Linked DNA regions of Homo sapiens: all the other regions are linked to region 1. The links are contacts of gene promoters, found by promoter capture Hi-C in blood cells and fetal thymus (Javierre and others, 2016). All regions are on one chromosome and are shown on one strand. The core of a region is centred on a gene start or on the middle of the fragment in contact, and the rest is flanking DNA. Distances in the headings are between cores, read along the strand shown.

Region 1 (4,082 bases), core at 806-3,305:
GGACTCTGCAGCCACTGGGTGGCGCGTGTGAGCGGCTCCCGCGCTGCTACTTCAGCCCCACGAGTCCCAGTTCCTACCTCCCTCCTGCCTCAGACCCGCAGCGTCCTCCGTTCTGGGGTCCCAGGGGTTTCTCAAAGCTGTGAGACCCAGAGACACAGCCAGTCAAGGCTGGAAGCGAGAGGCTGCGGCGGTCAGTGGCTTCCCGGCCACCCCGTCCTTGGCGCCCGCCCGACGCGCCGTCTGCTCCTCCCACCCCACCGCGGGCCGCATCATGAAAATTTAATACCAAATGCATTTGCGGCCCGACGCGGGGAGGTAGTGGGGAAAGGATCACCCTCCTGGGGCCTGGATCTGGAGGTGGACTCAGCGCCGGGAGATGGGCTGGTCTGAGGACAGGAGCGGGGCGGGACCCTGTCTGCGGGCCCAGGACAGGGAAGGGCCGGGCTCTACCCAACGGGGCGGCGCTGGAATTCCGGCGTGGAGACAGAGTTCGGTGGGCGGGGACAGATTCCGGGGGTGGGAGCAGGACTGGGAGGGCAGGGACAGATCCCAGAGGCGGAGGCGGTGGGCGGGGGACAGATCCCATGGGGCAGGGGCAAGACTGGGAGGGCGGGGACAGATCTCAGGGGCGGAGGCCAGAGCTCGGTGGGCGGGGTCAGATTCCGGGGGCGGAGGCAGGACTGGGAGGTCGAGGACAGATCCCAGTGGCGAGGGTCAGAAGTCGGAGGGCGGGGACAGATCCCATGGGGCCGGGGCAAGACTGGGAGGGTAGGGAGAGATCCAGGGGGCGGGGAGAACTGGGTGGGCGGGGACAGATCCCATGGGGCAGGGGTAGAACACAGAGGGCGGGGACAGATCCCAGGGACGGAGGCCAGAACTCGGTGGGTGGGGACAGATTCCAGGGGGCAGAGATAGATCCTGTGGGGAAGGGGTAGAACTCAGATGGCAGGAACAGATTCCAGGGGGCAAGGACAGAACTGAGAGGGCGGGAACAGAGCCAGGGACAGATCCTAGGAGAAGGGGACACAACTCCAACGGTGGGGAGAGAACTCAGAGGGCGGGGGCAGAACTCAGGTCAGCGACAGATCCTAGGGGAGGAGACAAATTCAGAGGGCGGGTGAGGATGCCAGGGGGTGCGGATCACAATTTAGGGGGCGGGACAGATCTCAGGGGGTGGAGACAGAACTCAAATAGAGGAATGGATCCCCCGGAGCTAGGGAAGAACTCAGAGCGCGGACAGATCCCAGAGGAGCAGAGAAATAACACAATGGGGAGACTATGGGGTCGCAGCTGGCACTGGCGGGGTGTGTGAAATATAACTGTGGGGGGCGGAAGCCAGAGGGAAGAAAATCGGGGTTAGGGAATGAAACTCAGGGAGAGAAGCAACAGGGAGGAGAGAGACGCCGGAGGGAGAATAGAGCTGGAGGAGTATGGGATTCAAAGGGGAAAGATGGAAACTAAGGAGGAGATGGAGCTCAAGGGTGAAGAACCCGGGTGGCGAAAGGGACTAGAGGGGGACGACAGGTGGATCGAAGTAGGCGTTGGACTTGAGGGGAAAGAATTTCCCTTGAATGAGAAAACAAAGAACTCCCTGGATGAGACTATTGGAACTGGGGACGAGGTGGGATGGGGATGGAATTGCGGGGTGGGGGCGGGGAGGAGTGAAGGAACTGGAGGATGAACGCAGAGGGAAAGTCAGAGAAGACAGGATTGTAAGGGACGCAATTAGGGGGAACAGAAGTCGGGGAGAGAAATGATGGGGATGAGAACTCAGGAGAGGAGAGAAAATCTGGGTAGGAGCCAGGGGTGATGGAACAGGGATAGGGGGAGTAGCCTGGGGAAGGAACAGAATTGGGGGGCGTGAACTCGGAGGCGTGAGTTCAGAACCCACAGGCGTGGTCTTGGAAGGCTCAGGAGGGGACAGGACGAGGATGAAAGGGCTGCGAGAGGGGGCGGGTCTGACAGACGAGGGGAGGGGCCTGGTGGGGCCGGGGCGGGGCCTCCCGCGCCCCGCCCCCGGCGCTGAGTCCTGTGACAGCCCCCGGGCCGCCTGCACTTGCAGCCTCCTTCCCCCCGAGCGGAGCTGCGGGGCCGGCCGGGCCGGGGCTGGACCCCGGGAACCCGGACGCGGCCGCCCGGGCCCGCGGGCGGGGGGATCGGCGGGGGGGACCCGCGGGGTGACCGGCGGCAGGAGCCGCCACCATGGAGTTCCGCCAGGAGGAGTTTCGGAAGCTAGCGGGTCGTGCTCTCGGGAAGCTGCACCGGTGAGCCTGGCGGGGGTCCCGGGAGAAGAGTGGGAGGATCTGAGGAGGATGCTAATTCCCACCTGGGCGCAGACTGACAGATGAACGGGCGATACCCCGGCATGGGGGTCCACCCATCTGTCCAGTTTTCTGCCGTGGGCTCCGACGGCGCTGTTCTCCCTGGTCGAGCCTTGTCCATTATCCTGTTCCTTTTTCTGCACCCCACCCCACCCGGCTCCACTCTCTCTGGTGCTGTAAATGCCTCTCTCCCGGGTCTCTGGCTCCTCCCCCACCACTTCTGGGTCTCTGTCCCCGTCTCTTTCTGGATGTCTCTGCCCCTTTTCTCTCTGGGTCTCCGTCTCCCTCTTTTTCCAGATCTCGGCTCCCTTCTCTCTGGGCCCCTCCTTCTCCCTAGATCTCTGCCTCCGCTTCTTTGCGTCTCTGTGCCCCTCTCTCTGGTTCTCTGGCCATTGCTCTCACTGGATCTCTATCAACTCCTGACTCAGAGTCTCTGTCCCCCTCTTTCTGGGTCTCTCCTCTTCCCTGGATCTCTGGTCCCCACTTCTCTGGGTCCCTGTCCCCGTCTCTGTGTTTTAATTCTCCCACCATGGGTCTCTCCGTCTCTCTGTGTCTTTTTCCGTTTCTGTCTGGCATGGAGTTTAATCTGCAGCTAAAGCGGATTGGGGCTCATAGCCCGTTGTCCTTGAGGGGGTGAGGCTGGGTGGAAGAAGTCACAGCACCCTGGGTCCCTGGGAGAGAAAGGAGTTAGAGGCCAAAAATTTCGGCTCCTGGGGTAGGACAGCCTTCCCAAAGGATACAGGCTGGGGCTGACAGGGACTCCCTCCCAACCAGGTTGATGACCCCAGTGAACCGAGTGTCCCTCAGGATAATCTGGACACCTCCCCACAGGCTCTCACCCCCAACCCCAGCTTTGGCTCTAAGTCAGATAAATTACTCAGCTGCGGAAAAGCCTAAAAATATATCTGGCCACAGTGCACGAAGGAGATGGCCTCATCAGCACCATGCCCCTGCCGCCGTGCCCTCAGGCCCTGTCCCCTTGGCCCACAGCCCTGACCCTGTGTTTCGCTGAGCTTCAGTCCACCTCGCTAGGCCATGGGGGTCCTTTGCTAAGTCTAACATCAGTCTTGCTTGCTGCAGATCACCTCTTAGCTCCAAAGTTACCCCACCCTCTAGTAACATGAGAGACAAGAATAAGGCTGGACAGAAGTGGGGGGAGGTGGGCAGGAGGATGGTGCAGTGACGGAGGTTGGTGGTGGAGGGGAAGCTGAGATAACCTCACCCCTTCTTTTTCCAATTTTCCAGCCCCTCCCCACCCTTTTTCTCGCCTCCTTTCACGAGTTTCTCAAAATACATCAGTGTGAAGTCAGGAGAATGAGAGAGAGAGAAAGAGACGTGCTGGTGGAGGGGGCTGGGGGGTGGCAGCGGGAGGGATGTATTCCTCAGGCCCCTCCCTCAGTCTCTGCCTCTGTTTCTCATCTGTGCTAGGGTTTCTCACAGTCAATCTCTCTGGCTCTCACTCTCTGAGTTACCTCTTGGGTCCCCAGAGACCCCCGGGCTCTGGCCAGGACCATCAGCAGGGAGTTTGTGCAGAGAAAAGCATTTGCTTCCAATGCCTGGGGTTTGCTCTGATGGTTGGAGGGAGAGGGGAATACCCCATATTAGAGACAACAGGTTGATCTCATTTAATCCTCTAGACAAAGATGGGGAAACTGAGGCTCCATTCTGGGGTTGGGGAGATCAGTGGATGAGTATGAGCCCCATGATTTGAACCCAGGTCAGTCTCCCTCCCAAGCCTAGAACAGAGCTCTTCCTTGAGAA
Region 2 (4,082 bases), core at 495-2,994, 130 kb after region 1:
TTCATGGTCAAAAGTGGAAATTTCTTCTCCCCATTTTTATCTGGATCCTGTATATCCTTCATTTCTATGTTTTCTTAAAATTATCTTTTAATTAATTAATTTTATTTTATTATTATTGTTATTATTTTTGAGATAGGGTCTTACTCTGTTGCCCAAGCTGGAGTGCAGTGGTGCAATCTTGGCTCACTGCAACCTCCCCCTCCTGGATTCAAGTAATTATCTCACCTCAGCCTTCCGAGTAGCTGGGGCTACAGGTGTGTCCCACCATGCCTGGCTAATTTTTGTATTTTTTGGTAGAGATGGGGTTTCACCATATTGGCCAGGCTTGTCTTAAACTCCTGACTTCAAGTGATCCTCCTGCCTTGGCTTCTCAAAGTGCTGGGATTACGGGCATGAACCACTGCACCTGGCCTATTTTATTTTATTTTTTTAGAGAATGAGGTCCCACTCTGTTGCTCAGGCTGGAGTTCAGTGGTGTGATCATAGCCCACTGCAACCTTGAACTCCTGGGCTCAAGCGATCCTCTCCACTTAGCCTCCCAAATAGCTGGGACCACTGGCGTGTCCCACTATGCCTGGCTAATTTTAATTTTAATTTTTTTTTTTTTTTTTTGGTAGAGATGGGTTTTCACTGCATTGTCAAGGCTTATCTTGAATTCCTGGCCTCAAGTGATCCTCCTGCCTTGGCCTCCCAAAGTACTAGGATTACAGGCATGAGCCACTGTGTCTGGCCTATCCTTCATCATTCTTGTTCTTGTATTGCTCAATTTGGCTTTACTCACAGGAATTTCTCCTCATTGTGGCCTCTGGGTTGGAAAAGATCCCTGGTTGGTTAATTTTAAGAGTTCATAGAATCTAGTCTGCCCTGGTCCCTTCAGTTTCTATTGTTGACTCCATGCACTCAACTGTTATTGGATTAGGCAAGACATCTTCTAGTTTTAGCTGCTGTTCTCTAATAGCCTTCCCATGATTTCTGGTGAGTACCTGTTGATTATTTTGAGAGACTGGTTTCCCTGTCCCCCATCCCCAGGTCTGTCAGATGCTCTCTTGCTTCCTTTGTTTCCTCCCACACAGATGCTGATTCTATACAGGTCTGTGGCTCTTGTGGTTTGTTCTCATAGACTTGTCTTTTGGGGTTTATCTTGATATTGTAAATATTATCCATGGATTTTGGGCTTGCAATCTAGTAGAACTACTTGTTTTCATGTGAGTATTTGGGAAGATTTTAAAACAATGTTGCTGTTATTGCCATTACCTTCCCAGGATTTTACTCTATATTTAAAAAATTATTTTATAAGTGGCATTATTATTTTAAAATTTTATTTTCTAATTATGTATTGCAAGCATAGACATATAAATAATTTTCATTTATTGCTGTTTGCATCCAACAATCTTGCTAAATTATCTTATTAATTTAAATAATTTATCTGTAGTATTCTGGATCTTCCACATAGATATATCATCTGTGAATAGTGAGTTTTGTTTAATCTTTGTCTTTTATTCCCCTTGCTTTCCTGTGTTGTCTAAAATATTTAATGCAATGGGAAGGAAGTGCTGATAGCTGGTTTCATTGATTGTTCTTGATTTCAAAAGGCAAGCTTTCTTCACTTCATTATTAAATATGTGCCTATGTTTAAGCATATGTTCACTATTAAGTATAATCTTTTTTTTTTGAGAGACACCATTTATCAGGTTAGGGAAATTATTCCTGGTTTGCTAAAAGTTTTTCTCCGTAAATCATCATTGTATTGTATGTTTTTCCTATATCTCTTGAGATGATAATATTTTTCTTCTTTATTATATCAATGTGACTAATTATATTGATTTTCTCTAGTGGTATGCTTTGAATCATCTCTACTGAGTTTTTTGCTTTGTAGTTACCACGAAGCTTACATAAAACATCTCCTGCCTCAGCCTCCCAAAGGGCTGGGATTACAGGCATGAGCCACCATGACCAGCCCCAAAGGCTGGATTTTTGTACCTAATTTTTTCTTCAGCCTTTTCTTCCCTGCATGATTTTCTGCTTCTCTCTTAATGTTATGGAAGCATCATTTGTCTCAGGGAGACGCCCATCAACCCACCAATAACTCCAATAAATCCAATAACAGAGGAGTGGCCCACCTGCTGTTGCATTCTCTGGCATACAGCTTCTGGAAGCTGTTGGTTCACTGGAGCAGAAGGTCTTTGGCAAGTGATTGTTTTTATTTCCCACAAGTTGCTGGGAAAGTATTTACTTACTTCCTGAAACACTGAACCACTTCATCAGGAAAAAGAGATGTGAACTGACTCCTCAGTGATTACAGTTTGGTCCTGTTTCTTGTTTATGTAGCAGAAGTTTCTCTGTTTTTGACATGAGGATGGAACCTATTTTTCAGAAATGATGCAGATATCCCCATATTTGTAATATTTTAAAATCATTGGTTTTTTTTTTTGTTGGGTAGGGGGAGATTGTGGGTAAGTTTGGAGATTGGTGTTCATGTGGCTATCTTAGAAGAAACTTCCTTTTGTTTTGATGGTGAATTGTAGGAGTGGCAGGTGCTTGGAAGTTTAAAAAATTTAACAAAATTTTGACATAATTTCAGACTTACAACACTTCCATCTTTCCTTGTCTTTATTGACTGTGACATTTTTACTGAGCACAGGCCAGCTATTTTACAGAATGTACTTCAATTTAGATTTGTTTTCTGGTGTTTCCTCACGATTGGAGTTTTGTTACATGTTTTTGGCAGGAATCCCACAGAAATGATGTTGTGCTCTTAATGCATTGTATCAGGAGTTATATGATATCAGGTGACTATTATTGGTTTAGGTAGTGTGTAATACTCTAAAGATACTAGTTTCTTGGGTTTTTTTGGGGGGAATATCTTGTGGGGAGATACAGTAATACTATGCAATTATCCTGTCCCCATCAAATTTTCATCATCTTGTTTTAGCAACCATTGATGATTCTTGCTTGTGTCAGTTATTACTCTGGTAATTTCCAAACAATGATTTGTTAAAAAGACATATTTATTGAGGGATGATTGACAAGTAAAAAACTGTACATATTTCATGTGTACAACTTGATTAGTTTATGATAAGCAGTGACCTTCTAATTCATCGTTCCTTGTACATTTATTAGTTTGTATTCTACTATAAGGAAGAGGTTTTCCTTTTCCTGAGTTGTATCCCTGTGGATTCATGGATTCTTGTTTTAGTCTGTTGGTTCTCATCTGTTACTATTCTTTATTTTGATGTTCTGATTTGTCCAGATTTCGCTGATGAGAGCTTCTTCAATTGGATTTCTTTGTCCATTATGATCTTTTTATTTTCACTTATCAATACATATTTTTTCTTGATTATGATTATGATTATGATTATGATTTTTTTTTTTTTGAGACGGAGTCTCACTCTGTTGCCCAGGCTGGAGTGTAGTGGCGTGATCTCAGCTCACTGCAAACTCCGCTTCCCAGGTTCACGCCATTCTCCTGCTTCAGCCTCCTGAGTAGCTGGGACTACAGGCGCCCGCCACTGTGCCTGGCTAATTTTTTGTACTTTTAGTAGAGATGGGGTTTCACCGTGTTAGCCAGGATGGTCTCGATCTCCTGACCTCAGGTGATCCACCCACCTCGGCCTCCCAAAGTGTTGGGATTACAGGCGTGAGCCACTGTGCCCGGCTGATTATTATTATTTTTTTGAGACAGAGTCTTACTCTGTCACCTAGGCTGGAGTACAGTGGTATGATCTTGGCTTACTGTAACCTCTGCCTCCCGATTCAAGTGATTCTCCTAAGTCAGCCTCCCTAGTAACTAGGATTACAGGTGCCTGCCACCATGTCCGGCTATTTTTTTTTTTTTTTTTTTTTTGCATTTTTAGTAGAGATAGGGTTTTGCCATGTTGGCCAGGCTGGTCTCAAACTCCTGACCTCAAGTGATCCGCCTGCCTTGGCCTCCCAAAGTACTGGGATTACAGGCATGAATCACCATGCCTGGCCGTATTTTTATTGATTATTAAAGTAATACAGGTGAGTGGGGAATGGTGGCTTGTGCCTGTAATGCCACCTACTCTGGAGGCTGAGACCGGAGACTCACTTGAGCACAGGAG
Region 3 (4,082 bases), core at 1,168-3,667, 73 kb after region 1:
GCTCTTCAGCATCCTCATCCTCCTTGAACTCACTGGGTTACATTTCTTCTGCCTTTTCAGGCTTTGTCTCTATTGTTTTTTCTGCAGGTGCTGGGAGAGTACTTGTTGGCATATGCTGATGGTCATCTGCATGATTGGACTCTTCCATATCTGCTCCAGAAGCTTGAGTGTCTCCACTACAGGAAGAGTCTTTGTCATTACTGGTTTTAGAAAAGCTGTCCTCAGAGCCACCATTTTTCTTGATGCCTTTCACGGTGACAACGGCCAGCACTTGCCCTGAGGACATCTCTTCAGGAAGCTCTGCTACAAGAATGGCGAAGCAATCTTTTTTCTTGGCATCTCATTTTGCCCTGTGAAGAGATAGGGCTGCTTCTGGGGACTTTTCACTGATCACCATCCCCGCCAGGTCATCCTTGAAATCATTTACCTGGACTCCCTAGGGTGCCTTCACATTACATGGGGCCTCCTTTTCCTTGATGTTGTTGGCAAATTCTTTCACTGGATTATCTATGGGAACTTTTTCCTTGGCACATTTGTCGGCATTCAGATCCAGTGGAGCATCCTCATGTGAGCTTTCGTTGGTGAGGTCTTCCACCAGGGTATCCTCCATGGGAACTTTTTCCTTGGCTCATTTGTCAGCCTTTAAATTTAGCAAAACATCCCCATCTGAGCTTTTGTTGGCAAGGTCTTCCACCAGGGTATCCTCCGTGGGAACTTTTCCTTGGTGAATTCATCAGCCTTCAATCCAGTAGAGCGTCCTCATCTGAGCTTTCATTGGCAAGGTCTTTCACCAGGGTATCCTCTGTGGGAACTTTTTCTTTCATGCGTTTGTCAACCTTCAAGTCCAGTGAGGCATCCTTATCTGAGCTTTCGTTTCCAAGGTCTTCCACCAGGGTATCCTCCATGGGAACTTTTTCCTTGGCACGTTCTTTGGCCTTCAAATCCAGTGGGGTGTCCTAATCTGAAATTTCATTGGCGAGGTCTTCCAGAGGATCCTCCATGGCACCTTTTTCCTTGGCACATTCATTGGCCTTCCAAAGCCATGGGGCATTTTCATCTGAGCTTTCACTGGCTTGGTATCCTTCCAGGATATCTTCCATGTGAACACTTGCCTGAGTTGCTGAGTCTGTCAAGTGAACAGCAAGAACCTGTTCAGAGGAAGTGTCGCTGGTCTGCTCCCCTGCCAGGTTGTCCTTGAAATCTTCAGATGGCTACCTGCCAGGGTGCACATGAGGATGACACCTGCGGTGGCACATTCTCTCTCTAAAACTGCGCTGGCAGACCATGGATTCGCCATGGACAGTGGAGTCTCCTGAAACCTGAGTATCCACTGCTGCATCTTGGAGGCAATACTCTAGCCTTCACGAGCACCCTTCTACTCCAGTCAGGCTGAAGTCTCCCTCGCTGTCACCGCCACAACTGTAGGAGGTGAGCCACAGAGCCGTGCCATCTGCAAGCTCCAAACTCCACCTCACCACAGGTGACTCCTCCTTCACTTTCTCCTCCAGCCTTTCTCAGAGTGGCTGGGCGGGCAAAGCCAGAAAAGCCACTCTGGCCACACTGCAGCCTCTGTTGCCACCACCAACTGCAGTGAGGCAAGCCATGGTGCCACAGGCTCCAACCTCCAGCATGTGGCAGGTGATTCCCCTTCCCCTTCTCCTGGTTCTCTAAGCCAGGAACAGAGTAGCTCGGTGGGCAGATACAGAAGAGCCTAAAATCTGTTGTACTATTTTAAGAAAAACTTCTCTTGCCTGTAATCCCAGCACTTTGGGAGGCCGAGGTGGGTGGATCACCCAAAGTCAGGAATTCAAGACCAGCCTGGCCAACATAGCAAAACCTCATCGCTACTAAAAATACAAAAAACAAAAAACAAACAAAAAAAAATTAGCTGGATATTGTAGTGCGTGCCTGTTATCCCTGCTCTTTGGGAGGCTGAGGCAGGAGAATCACTTGAACCTGTGTTAGAATCAAAATGCTTGTTTCTTGGTGTCGCAAGGAAAAATTAGCATTCAGACAAAAAGTTTTCTCAGCAAGGCAATTTTACTTTCTGTAGAAAGGGTGCTGCCCATCAGCAATCCTGCCAGGAGAGCACAATGAACAAAGAAAGGCAGGAATATTTATCCCTTATGCATTGGGTCCTTACTGCTGTGTCCTGTCTCCATTGGTTGGAGCTGGACCTCACAGTCTAAGCTAAACCCAATTGGCTAACAACTTAAAAAACTTTCTTAAATAGGTAAAGGCAATGGAGAACAAAGGAAAAGAGGAAGTTGCTTGCCAAAAGACTTGGAGAAGTAATAACATTTCCAAATAAGGAAAGGGCATAAGCTGTGAGCTGGGACATGCTTGAGCACGTCGAGACCAAATATCTTGGTTAACGTACAAGGACACAGAAGGTACTTATTTCCTTATATCTAACAACTACATAAGATATGGTTTAAAAAAGAGTTACTAACACAAAGCAAAGAGGCTTAAAAAAAGTTAATTAAAAATATTATTTCTAACACTTGTGATTTATTATTTAATAAAAACTTTAAAGAGAAACTTTTTTACTTTCCACAACCTAGAAGGTGGAGGTTGCTGTGAGCCAAGATGGCACCACTACACTCCAGTCTGGGTGACAGAGGGAGACTCCATTTCCAAAATAATAAAGTATGTTTTTTAAAAAAAACTTTTCTGTAGTCTTGAAATTTTATTTATTTATTTATTTATTTATTTTTTGAGACAGAGTCTCACTCTGTTGCCCAGGCTAGAGTGCAGTGGCATGATCTGGGCCCACTTTAGACTCAACCTCCTCGTCTCAAACAATCCTCCCACCTCAGGCTTCTGGGTAGCTGGAACCACAGCACACACCACCACACCTGGCTACTTTTTTGATTTTTTTTTTTTTTTTGGAGACAGAGTCTCACTCTGTCCCCCAGGCTGGAGTGCAGTGACATGATCTTGGCTCACTGCAACCTCTGCCTCCCGGGTTCAAACAATTCTTTTACCTCAGCCTCCAGAGTAGCTGGGACTACAGGTGCAGGCTGCCATGCCCGGCTAATTTTTCGTATTTTAGTAGAGACAGGGTTTCACCGTGTTGCCCAGGCTGGTCTCGAACTCCTGAGCTCAGGCAATCTGCCTGCCTTGGCCTCCCAAATTGCTAGGATTACAGGCGTAAGCCAGCATGCCTGGCCTACTTTTTAAATTTTTTTGTAGAGATGAAGACTCCCTCTATTGCCCAGGGTGATCTCAAACTCGTGGGCTCAAGTCATCCTCCTGCCTCAGCCTCCCAAATTGCTAGGATTATAGGTGTAAGCCACTGTGCCTGTCCTGAAATTTTTAAAATAAAATTTTAAATAAACATTTTTAAAATGAAGATATTGCATGGGTGTACGTGGGTATCATATGGATGTATCAAGCTCTTTGGGTTTCTTAAAACTTTTCAGGATTAAAAATACCCTGATTTTGCAAAGCACTTCATAATTAGAATCACTTGTAGAAGTTTACCAAAGGTGGCCTGGCCAGGCATGGTGGCTCACGCCTATAATCCCAGCACCTTGGGAGGCCAAGGCAGTTGGATCACCTGAGGTCAGGAGTTCAAGAGCAGTCTGGCCAACATGATGAAACCTTGTCTCTCTAAAAATAGAAAAATTAGTCAGGTGTGGTGGCAGTCACCTGTAATCCCAGCTACACAGGAGGCTGAGGCAGGAGAATCACTTGAACCTGGGAGATGGAGGTTGCAGTGAGCTGAGATCGCACCATTGCACTCCAGCCTGGGGGACGAGCGAGACTTCGTCTCCAAAAAAAAAAAAAAAAAAGTTTACCAAAGGTGAAATACACAACGCATTTAGCATTCATACAGCTCTTTGGTATTAAAAATCACATTTTGGGCCAGGCGCAGTAGCTCATGCCTATAATCCCAGCACTTTGGGAGGCCGAGGCAGGTGGATCAGCTGAGGTCAGGAGTTCGAGACCAGCCTGGCCAACATGGCCAACATGGCGAAACCCTGTCTACACTAAAAATTCAAAAATTAGCTGGACGTGGTGGCACGTACTTGTAGTCCCATCTACTTGGGAGGCTAGGGCTGGAGAATCACTTGAAC

Evidence for each region. The method cuts DNA at HindIII sites, captures the fragments that hold promoters and counts their contacts. A CHiCAGO score of 5 or more calls a contact.
Region 2: a contact is called between a fragment that was not itself captured here and the fragment with the promoter of SLC17A7 in region 1, in 3 of 17 cell types (naive B cells, total B cells and endothelial precursors). The highest score is 11.4, in naive B cells.
Region 3: a contact is called between a fragment that was not itself captured here and the fragment with the promoter of SLC17A7 in region 1, in 3 of 17 cell types (endothelial precursors, naive B cells and total B cells). The highest score is 6.3, in endothelial precursors.

The regions. Positions count from the first base shown.
Region 1 is chr19:49,439,500-49,443,581 of GRCh38, reverse strand. It overlaps SLC17A7 (solute carrier family 17 member 7), which reads left to right and starts at 2,055. Exons shown (of 12, transcript NM_020309.4): 1 at 2,055-2,264. The coding sequence starts at 2,203. The HindIII fragment of the contact is 19,375 bases long and covers 1-4,082 here.
Region 2 is chr19:49,313,388-49,317,469 of GRCh38, reverse strand. All of the region lies in intron 1 of SLC6A16 (solute carrier family 6 member 16), which reads left to right. Among named protein-coding and RNA genes, the nearest start is that of MIR4324, 6.6 kb to the right of the region's middle. RefSeq lists a silencer at 3,657-3,879. The HindIII fragment of the contact is 290 bases long and covers 1,600-1,889 here.
Region 3 is chr19:49,367,122-49,371,203 of GRCh38, reverse strand. All of the region lies in intron 4 of DKKL1 (dickkopf like acrosomal protein 1), which reads right to left. LOC101928295 (a long non-coding RNA gene) reads left to right here. Exons shown (of 3, transcript NR_110729.1): 3 at 61-2,499. Among named protein-coding and RNA genes, the nearest start is that of DKKL1, 5.3 kb to the right of the region's middle. The HindIII fragment of the contact is 4,505 bases long and covers 165-4,082 here.